3 separate regions of the Homo sapiens genome follow, and regions 2 and 3 are each linked to region 1. The links are contacts of gene promoters, found by promoter capture Hi-C in human tissues and cell types (Jung and others, 2019). All regions are on one chromosome and are shown on one strand. Each heading gives the region's core, a stretch centred on a gene start or on the middle of the fragment in contact. The rest is flanking DNA. Distances are from core to core; before and after follow the strand shown.

Region 1 (3,036 bases), core at 324-2,823:
GTCACGGCTACAGCCACAGAAAGCGGAAACCGAGCTGCAGTCCAGAGGGGATCCCCGTACATTTCCAGCGGGCTCAGACACAGGGTCCCCCACAAGAAAGAAACAGGACAGAAAAAGTCAGGACACGTATGCTGTGGAGAGTCGAGGTCTCGCCTAGATCTTGGGTGTGGGTAGACGCAGCCGCTGGCAGTTTTCCTTTCCAGCGTCTCTGGGGAGCCTGGAGATGTCCTTGGTGCCGATGTGACACGAAGAGTGATTGCGCCGCCCTGCAGAGGCGGTGGCGGGACGCTGCGCTCGGGCTGGGAAAGGCCGGCCCCAGGGCGACCCCTCCGGAGGCCCCCGGAGAGCAGGTGTGCACCTCGCCTCCCGCTGGGCAGCCAGTTCAGGAGAAAAATGTGAAGCTTTTAGCTAAACAAAATATTTCTTTCGTTAAGGGCTTTCTCCACACGGAGACTTTCTAGCCACGTGAGACTTTGACCTCCCAGTCCCCCAGATTCAGCGCTGGGACCGAGCGTCTGCTGTTATTTTTAGTAGAAGTATAAAAAGAATCTCGAAAAGTTTTAGCTCTGGAGAAGGCGTGAATACAGCTGGTGCCTTCATACACTCCACTTGAGCCGCTCTTTAAGAACTCCAGGAGATCAGAAAGCAATACGAAAGCCAGAGCATTGCACATGGGATGGGCTGGCGGGTGGCCTTTGGGTCCCTATCTTATGGACGATTTTTGTAAATGGGGCATTGGAGATGAGTATCACCTGGATCACATTTTTAGGTTGAATTCCTCCGTGGGGGGAACTTTAGCAATACGCATCCAAATAAGAATGTAGATTGCAATAATTGTAGTAAAGTGTTTGCCAGACTCATCTCAGAAAAAGACATTATCAAAAGGCATTTATTATCTTCCTAATGCGTGTCTGGCACTGGGCAGACACTGTAGAATACTATCTTGATTAGAGTCTCAAGGATTTTGTACTTAAAGTCCTTTACAAATAAAAGTATTCAAGTATAATCTATTATAAAGACTCTTTTCTCCACTTTGGGGATATACGGTGTGGCATCGATTCATTGGTCATACCAAAACTGTTACTTCTGTTTTGGAGGAATTAACAAGGAAAACCCAGGCTTAGTAAATCAACATCGAAGTTCAGAAGTTCAGAGTAATTTGTCTTGGGAACAAAGTCCTCCCTAGAGCGAAGAGGCATTCACAGGAGCTCTTGGTGTTAATGGGATTATTCAAGATATACCTGAGACCAGATAAATATTTGATGATTTTGCCAAGCACTAGGGTTTCTTTGCAGTTTGTCTTTGGCTGACGTTTTCCCCCCGTGGGGTTTGGACTTTGTGGCTTCACCAGATTTTGCAAATGAAAGAAGGCTGGGGTTTCCCAAGAGTACACTTGTGCAGGAAACAACAGACTAGTGAGGTTTACAAGAGGGGGGTGTGTGTGTGTGTGTGTCTGCCTGTGGGATGGGGGTGGCACGGGGGAGAGAGAGATGTGGGTTACAAAGCTGCCATCTAGAGGCTAGAGGCTCCTTTCTGCAGTGTATATAATGCAAGTCTGCAGCCAGCAGAGCTCACAGTTGTTGCAAAGTGCTCAGCACTAAGGGAGCCAGCGCACAGCACAGCCAGGAAGGCGAGCGAGCCCAGCCAGCCCAGCCAGCCCAGCCAGCCCGGAGGTAAGGAAACGGTGCTCGGGCAGCAGCTCTGCTCGGAAAGAAGGCACGGCTTCTGCTCTTAAGCCAAGTGGTCTTTTCAAAGGCCTTCTTTAAAATCGCTCAGATGGGTGCTTTTGAGTCTGCGGGTCTGGTTTCTGAAAACCCAGGCTGCACGCAGCTGCATTGCAAAGTGCTTTTGCTAATTCGGAGGGCTTCACCTTTCTCTTCAGAAAGCAAAGGGCAGTTTTCTTAAGTCACTTGCAGAAGGAAATTTCCATGTGTATTTAGGAATCTGGTGTTTATTTGCTGTGTGGCTATTTAAGCTCCAGTAAGCAGGGGAACTTTGCAAGAACACAGACTATCCATTCTGCCTGACCAATTTGGCATGGGGATTAGCTTGGCACCCACTGTTTACCTGTTTTGCTTCTAGTATATCAGTTTGGAAACAGATAAAATTGGCAGTAAATACGTAATTCCAGAATGATGAACACTTTATTAAGAGGCATCCTTAAATGGAGCAGAAAACTGCTGAGAATCTTTGTGAGTCCAAGATGTATTTGAATTCAGTACTTTGGGGGATTTACCAGAGTCTGTAAGTCCGGAAGCTATAAACGTGAATGTTAAACACAGCCCGGTCTTCTCTTCTCTTGATGGCACGCTTGCTAATCTAATTTGAGTATTGTTCTCTTAGAAGGTGTTAAGTCCAACTTCAATTGGGGTTGGGGGAAGCACACACACAAATCTACTATTTTGCAATTTAAATATACTCTTCAGGTAAAATGTGGATTTTGTTCAATTTTGTTGGCATGTGCAAAGATTCAAGGAGTGACTGAGAGAACTTTGGAGTGAGGTCAGGGATGGGTGGTTAGCCAAGACTTGTAACTTCCAGGGAGAATGAGAAGTTGTAAAAGTCAGACTGGCTGTCTCTCTTTCTCTCTTCCTCTTTCTTTCTTTCTTTCTTTCCTTTTGCTCACAACAGGATTACTTAGTGTTTCAAAAGTGGGAGAGAGCCTCCTTAAATGGTTTACAGCCCTTTGAATGTATTTGGTGCAGTGACATCCCCTGAAACTTCAGTCTGCAAAGTCTCAACATGGTAACTTTGTTCTTTTCTTTTTTAAAGGCAGATGCTGCTTTTAGTGTCCCTTTATTTATTCCAGGAAAAATGTGGACATCAGCTAGGCACGCCTAGCAAAGAAAGTGGAGGCTGCTGGTTTCTGTGCTTTAACTTTCCATAGATTTTAAATGGATAAACTGCTTGCCCTTCTTTCATCAGAATATGAGCTTTCCCCAGATGGAAAGTCTTTTCTAAAGCAAAGTTGCACATGGGAGCTCTAGCTTGGAAACAATTTGCTCTTTTTTCCCCAGTCTCTGCCATAAACACTTG
Region 2 (2,802 bases), core at 298-2,797, 94 kb after region 1:
CATTTCATTTAAACATTGGCTCCTTTATTTCCTCCCTCTTCTCACCAGCTAAAATTACAGGAGACCACCATTTTCGGGTGGAAAGAACATTTTGTGAAGTTCATTTGCTAAGCTTCTGCTATGAACCCACTTGGCCAAAGAGGGAAATCCTCCAGGAATTCAGTTTCACCAACCCTTCCCTCCACCCCGGGCTGCCGCTCTTCCTGCTGCTTTCATTTTAAGGGGACTGGGCATTTTTGCAATTTTGTCTTGACCATCATCATCTTTTTATTACTCATGGGGAACTTTCAAAACACCAGCTCCTTTTTTAAAAGTAGTTTTGTGTTCTTAGTGGTTTCACAATCTGAACTGAGCTGATGATTTGAGAAAATGTGGGCAGTTCATGGAATCATGAATGGTTAGAACCTTTCAGTTGAAGGGGACCCTAATCAAACATTCTACCCCAGTGGTTCTCAGTCAGGAGGGACTCTGTTCCCCAAGGGACACTTGGCAATGTCTGGAAACATTTTTGTCACTGCGGGGAGGGGGTTGCTACTGGTATCTGGTGGGTAGAGGCCAGGGTGGCTGCTAAACATCCTACAGTGCACAGGACCACCTCGCAGAACAAATAATTCTCTGGGTGAAAAGATCCATAGAGCTAAGTTTGAGAAACTCTGATCTACCCCAAAATTGAAGCCCTTCCAGCATCAGAGTGGACAGCTCCAGGGAAAGAGCAGCTCAAGAAACTACTCATGGGAGCAGCAGCCCTAAACTGGGGTCGACCCACAACGTGATGAGTGGGTGGCGAACTGTCAGGGCGGCAAGGGACAGGAGACCCACGAAAATTCATTTGGGGAAAGGGAAGACTTGGATGCCCAGCAGTCATCTTCTATGCTTCACTGGGCATAAACATATTCATTCAGACATTAGGTTTGATCGGTATGATTCCAGAGGGCAGGTTTAGAAATGTTGGGGGGAAGCTATGGGGAGGTTGAATTTGGCTTGGTGCGGAAGCACTCATACAGTCTCACCTAGTGAAATTTCATAAGCTCCGCTGTGTTGGCTCTTGGTGAGTTCACAGTTAAGAAAATCTTGAGGTTTCATTCATGCACTTTATTTAATTCCGTCTCCAGCCTCCTGCTTAATCCTGTTCTTATGCAGTTGATTTTTTGGCACGAGTGAAGTTCACGCTGGGCTGGAGGGAGAAGTGGGGAGAGTGAGGGATGAAATTCCAGGAGCAGGCCTGTTAGACTCTTCAAGTCCACGAACGCAGCCTCCCTGGCTCTCCTCCCAGTTGGATTGGCTTTACGGTCCTGTCAGTGGGACAGGCTATCTTGGCCAAACATGTGAATCTCCCTGAATGGGAAAAAGAAAAGGCAGAACATTAACTTAAAGTTTAGGATGCATGTGGGGAATGAAGGTGTGTGGATGGCTTATAGGATATCACTTGCTCTCCCAGAAACTCTGGACTGCCCTGCAGTAAAAACACCAAACCTCCTGCGCTGGGCTGAGAAGGGGCTTGAGCGTCGCCTGGGAAAATCTTTGACAGGCTGCCCAAACCGCAGCCCTAATCACTGAGGCACGTGGCTGACATTTTAGCAAGCTCACTTGGACTCGGAGCTTTCACAGAATGGAGACAAGGGAATAATTTCACTTTGGAGGACTGCACTTCTTTCCTTTACACCTCCCACTCCATCCTTCTTGTTAGCAAATACCCTGGGTGGGCAGATGTCACAGGAGCCGGCGGGGATGCTGGTTTGCATGGCAGCATCCCGCGGCGGAATACCAATGGCACAGCTCATGCTCTTTACTGAGGGGGTGGGACTCTGGAATTTTGGCATGATTGTAGTTGTTGCTGTAATCATGTTTTACATTAACAATGTTTCTTTCATCCAGATGGATTCTTAAGCGCTCGACAAACTTTATTAAGTAATTACAACAAGTTATAGACATTTAATTTGTCTATCATTAGGCACAGTTTCTGGGTGAATCATGGGATTTTTTTTGTTTTGTTTGGCCACACACAGAAACAGGATATTGATAGGGGACAGAGTAGACCTAGGGCTGTCAACTGGGCTTGGAAGAAGCCTGTCCTTGGTCTGAATTGGAAAAGGCACTAAGGCAACAGCCTCCCGGTGCAATCGTGTGAGTGAAGATCGGTGCAATCATGCGAGTGAAGATCACGGCAAACTTGACAATGGAGAAGAGGATACAGAAGCATTTCACACATCCCTGGGTTATTATTATTATTATTATTATTTCTAAATGGTCTACAAAACCATATGGAATCTCAATTTAAATACAGGAAAAGGCCGGGCATGGTGGCTCACACCTGTAATCCCAGCACTTTGGAAGGCCAAGGTGGGCAGATCACCTGAGGTCAGGAGTTTGAGACCATCCTGGCCAACGTGGTGAACTCCCATCTCTACTAAAATACAAAAATGAGCCGGGCGTGATGGTGGGCACCTGTAATCCCAGCTACTTGGGAGGCCGAGGCAGGAGAATCGCTTGAACCTGGGAGGTGGAGGTTGTAGTGAGTGGAGATGGCACCACTGCACTCTGGCCTGGGCGACAAAAACAAAACAAAACGAAACAAAACAAAACATACAAACAAAACAACCAACCAAACAAAAAAACCAACAGGAAAAAAAGCACAGGACAGCCCATGGGTCTGGAAGGCAGAGGCTCAAGGAGTCCTAGTGCAAAAGGGGCTTCCAGGACCACTCAGGTGGGAGCCTTTCAACCTGTGCCTCCTCTGAGGGCAGCTCAGGGGTTCTACAGCAGGAGGGAGGTGATGGGTCACCAGGAGGCAGGGCTCTTGGT
Region 3 (2,817 bases), core at 209-2,708, 100 kb before region 1:
GAGGCTGCCTGCCACAGATATCTTTTAATAGAATCTTTTTGAGAGAAAGTTTGATTTTTCTATTGCCAACATTTAAATTCTCTGGTCCTAACCACAGTTGGCGTCAGAGCATCTTGAGACCTGAAGTGATATGATGCAATACCCCATCAAGAAAACAGATGGGCAAGCTTGCCTTCTATGGCTCCTGGGACTGATCATAACAATCTGCCCTCTTTTCTTCCCTTCTTGAAATAAAATTGATTTAAAATCTCTTCTAATTAGGTTACCATCAAAGTGTTCTGCTGTGTAGAAAAATTCTCTGATGAATACCTTTTACAAACCATCTTTTGTAAACAAGTTTTAACTCATTTAACATTTCATTTAAGAACATTAAAGAACACCCTTAAATATGAATACGCCTGGAGCCTTGTCTCCAAAACTACCTATCTACCCATCTGATAAAGTTTGGATGCCCCCTCCAAATCTCATGTTGAAATGTGATCCCCAGTGTTGGAGGTGGAGCCTGGTGGGAGGTGTCTGGGTCATGGGGGTGGATCCCTCATGGCCTGGTGCTGTCCTTGCTATAGTGAGTGAGTTCTTGCAAGATCTGGTTGTTTAAAAGTATGTGGCACCACCCCCTGCCGCCAACCCCGCACTCTCTCTTTGGCTCTTGCTCTTGCCATTTGACGTGCCTTCTCCTGCATCACCTTCTGCCGTGAGTTGAGTTAAAGCTCCCTGAGGCAAACAGGAGCAGATACCAGCATCATGCTTCCTGTAAAGCTTGTAGAGCCTTGAGCCAATTAAGTTTCTTTTCCTTAGAAATTATCCAGCCTCAGATATTTCTTTATAGCAATGCAAGAACCACCTAACACACCATCATTCAAGGAGACCTGGTGGCCAGGTGTCTAGTCCCAGGAATCAGCAGCTGCCTCAAAGGATTATGACCGAGAGGGACCATGATTGAGAATCTCAAGCTTCTTACAAGTAGAGAGGCTGGCTAGATGCCAGAAGGGAAGGTTATTTCTGGGTCCCCTGACTTTTGGACAGACCTGGCCTGTGAAGTCCTGCCATCCTTGGGCTATGTCATGCACCCATTATATTCCAAGCCATGTGGTCACATAGGCACTATGTGGGCCGTTTTTCCATATTTAAAAAAATTAATTTCTGAATTCTTAGCCTTGGCATTTCACGTTTCTAAAACGAAGCCGAGAAACCTCATGACTCTATATCAATATGCTTCTGTGCTTAAAAACATACAATAACCTCAGCCACTAAAGAACAGACTGGATATGTCACGATGTAGCTCATGTTCACCTGCATTCGATGAACCAATGCCGGATCTGGTCTTGAAGGTTCTCCTTGATATCCACGCCTTCTATCAACTTTAGGTCATTCTTGATGGTAACCAGGGCTTCCCTGTAGTCCTCTTCATGCTTTATCTGCACCTCATTCCGCAGGCGGTCCACCTTTTCAGCCTGGATTACTGTAGCACTGACTTCATTAAAGAGAGGAGGTGGATTCTGAAAATATATACAAGCAACAAGGTTTGAGGTCATAAAAGTTACAGAGTTGGTAAAAATATCAGAAACTGAACAAATGTGTTAATATCTTCCATAGTGTCTAGCAAAGGCAAATAAGAAATACAAGCATCCAGAGGAAGCAAAGCTAACTGAGTGCATTTACTCAGTGTATTTAATCCAAAGTCCCTGACATAATGCTTTATGTTCTTTTGTTTTGAAGTTTTCAGCTTCAGTATGTTTGAGGTTTCTCTCCTGTCAACAACATAGATCTGGATTAAAAAAACTCAATCTGAGAATTATAGAAAAGAAAAATTTTATTCATTGTACAGAAGAAACATTTGGAGATAATCTTCTCAAGTTTTTTATCTAACACACTTTCTTGTTTTTTTTTTCTTCCTTTCCTACCTTCTGTTGGATTTATGTAGTTTTGTTCATTCTTGTCATGCAGTGGTTTAAAAATTATACATCTTATTTTAATCTTCTACTGGTTATCTTAAAATTTTAACATGTTACTTAACATCTACATTTCTATCTGTCTAGAATTTATCATAATCTAGAGCTTCTTTGAACAAGTATAGGACCTACGCATGTGTTCACTTTTCTTCCCACAACCTCTCGTTTTATAATATCATAGACTGCAATTAATTTTGAAAAGCAAGATATGTTTACATTTAATTATGAGATGTTCTGGTTTCTCTGTTTACCCTTTGCATTAGTCCATTTTTGCACTGCCGTAAAAGAATACTGGAGGGTGGGTAATTTATAAGGAAAAGAAGTTTATTTTGGCTCACAGTTCTGCAGGCTGTATGAGAAGCATGGTGCCAGCATCTGCTTGGCTTCTGGCGAGGCCTCAGGAAGCTTACAATCATGATGGAAGGTGACAGGGAGCCAGTGTCTCACGTGGTGAAAGGGAGCAAGAGATAAAGAAGGGGAGGTCCCAGACTTGTATAAACAACCAGATCTTGTGTGAACTGAGAGAATTCACTCATCACCAAGGGGATGGTGCTAAGCCATTCATGAGAGATCTGCCCCCAAGATCCATCACCTCCCACTAGGCTCCACCTCCAACACTGGGAATCACATTTCAGCATGAGATTTGGAGGGGACAAACATCCAAACCATATAACCCTTTTCTTCTTTTTTGTATTCAGTTTTCATTTTGCTGAAGTATGTCCTTGAGTGTAACTTTCAGAATGAATATGTACAGCCATAAATATTATAAGGACTAGCATTTCTAAAGATGTCTTCATTTGGCCCCTCCCACTTGAATGGCATTTTGGTAGTTCCCTTGAGGAATTCTACTTCTAATATGTAGAGT

The links. The method cuts DNA at HindIII sites, captures the fragments that hold promoters and counts their contacts. A contact is called where the count stands out against the background at its distance.
Region 2: a contact is called between a fragment that was not itself captured here and the fragment with the promoter of ACKR3 in region 1, in 2 of the 25 tissues and cell types used here (pancreas and spleen).
Region 3: a contact is called between a fragment that was not itself captured here and the fragment with the promoter of ACKR3 in region 1, in 2 of the 25 tissues and cell types used here (dorsolateral prefrontal cortex and mesenchymal stem cells).

The regions. Positions count from the first base shown.
Region 1 is chr2:236,568,252-236,571,287 of GRCh38, forward strand. ACKR3 (atypical chemokine receptor 3) reads left to right here and starts at 1,574. Exons shown (of 2, transcript NM_020311.3): 1 at 1,574-1,673. RefSeq lists an enhancer at 1-810. The HindIII fragment of the contact is 7,550 bases long and covers 1-3,036 here.
Region 2 is chr2:236,662,220-236,665,021 of GRCh38, forward strand. No RefSeq gene overlaps it. Among named protein-coding and RNA genes, the nearest start is that of ACKR3, 94 kb to the left of the region's middle. The HindIII fragment of the contact is 7,362 bases long and covers 1-2,802 here.
Region 3 is chr2:236,464,212-236,467,028 of GRCh38, forward strand. DRC11 (dynein regulatory complex subunit 11) reads right to left here. Exons shown (of 19, transcript NM_024726.5): 6 at 1,294-1,499. Among named protein-coding and RNA genes, the nearest start is that of DRC11, 42 kb to the right of the region's middle. The HindIII fragment of the contact is 5,182 bases long and covers 1-2,817 here.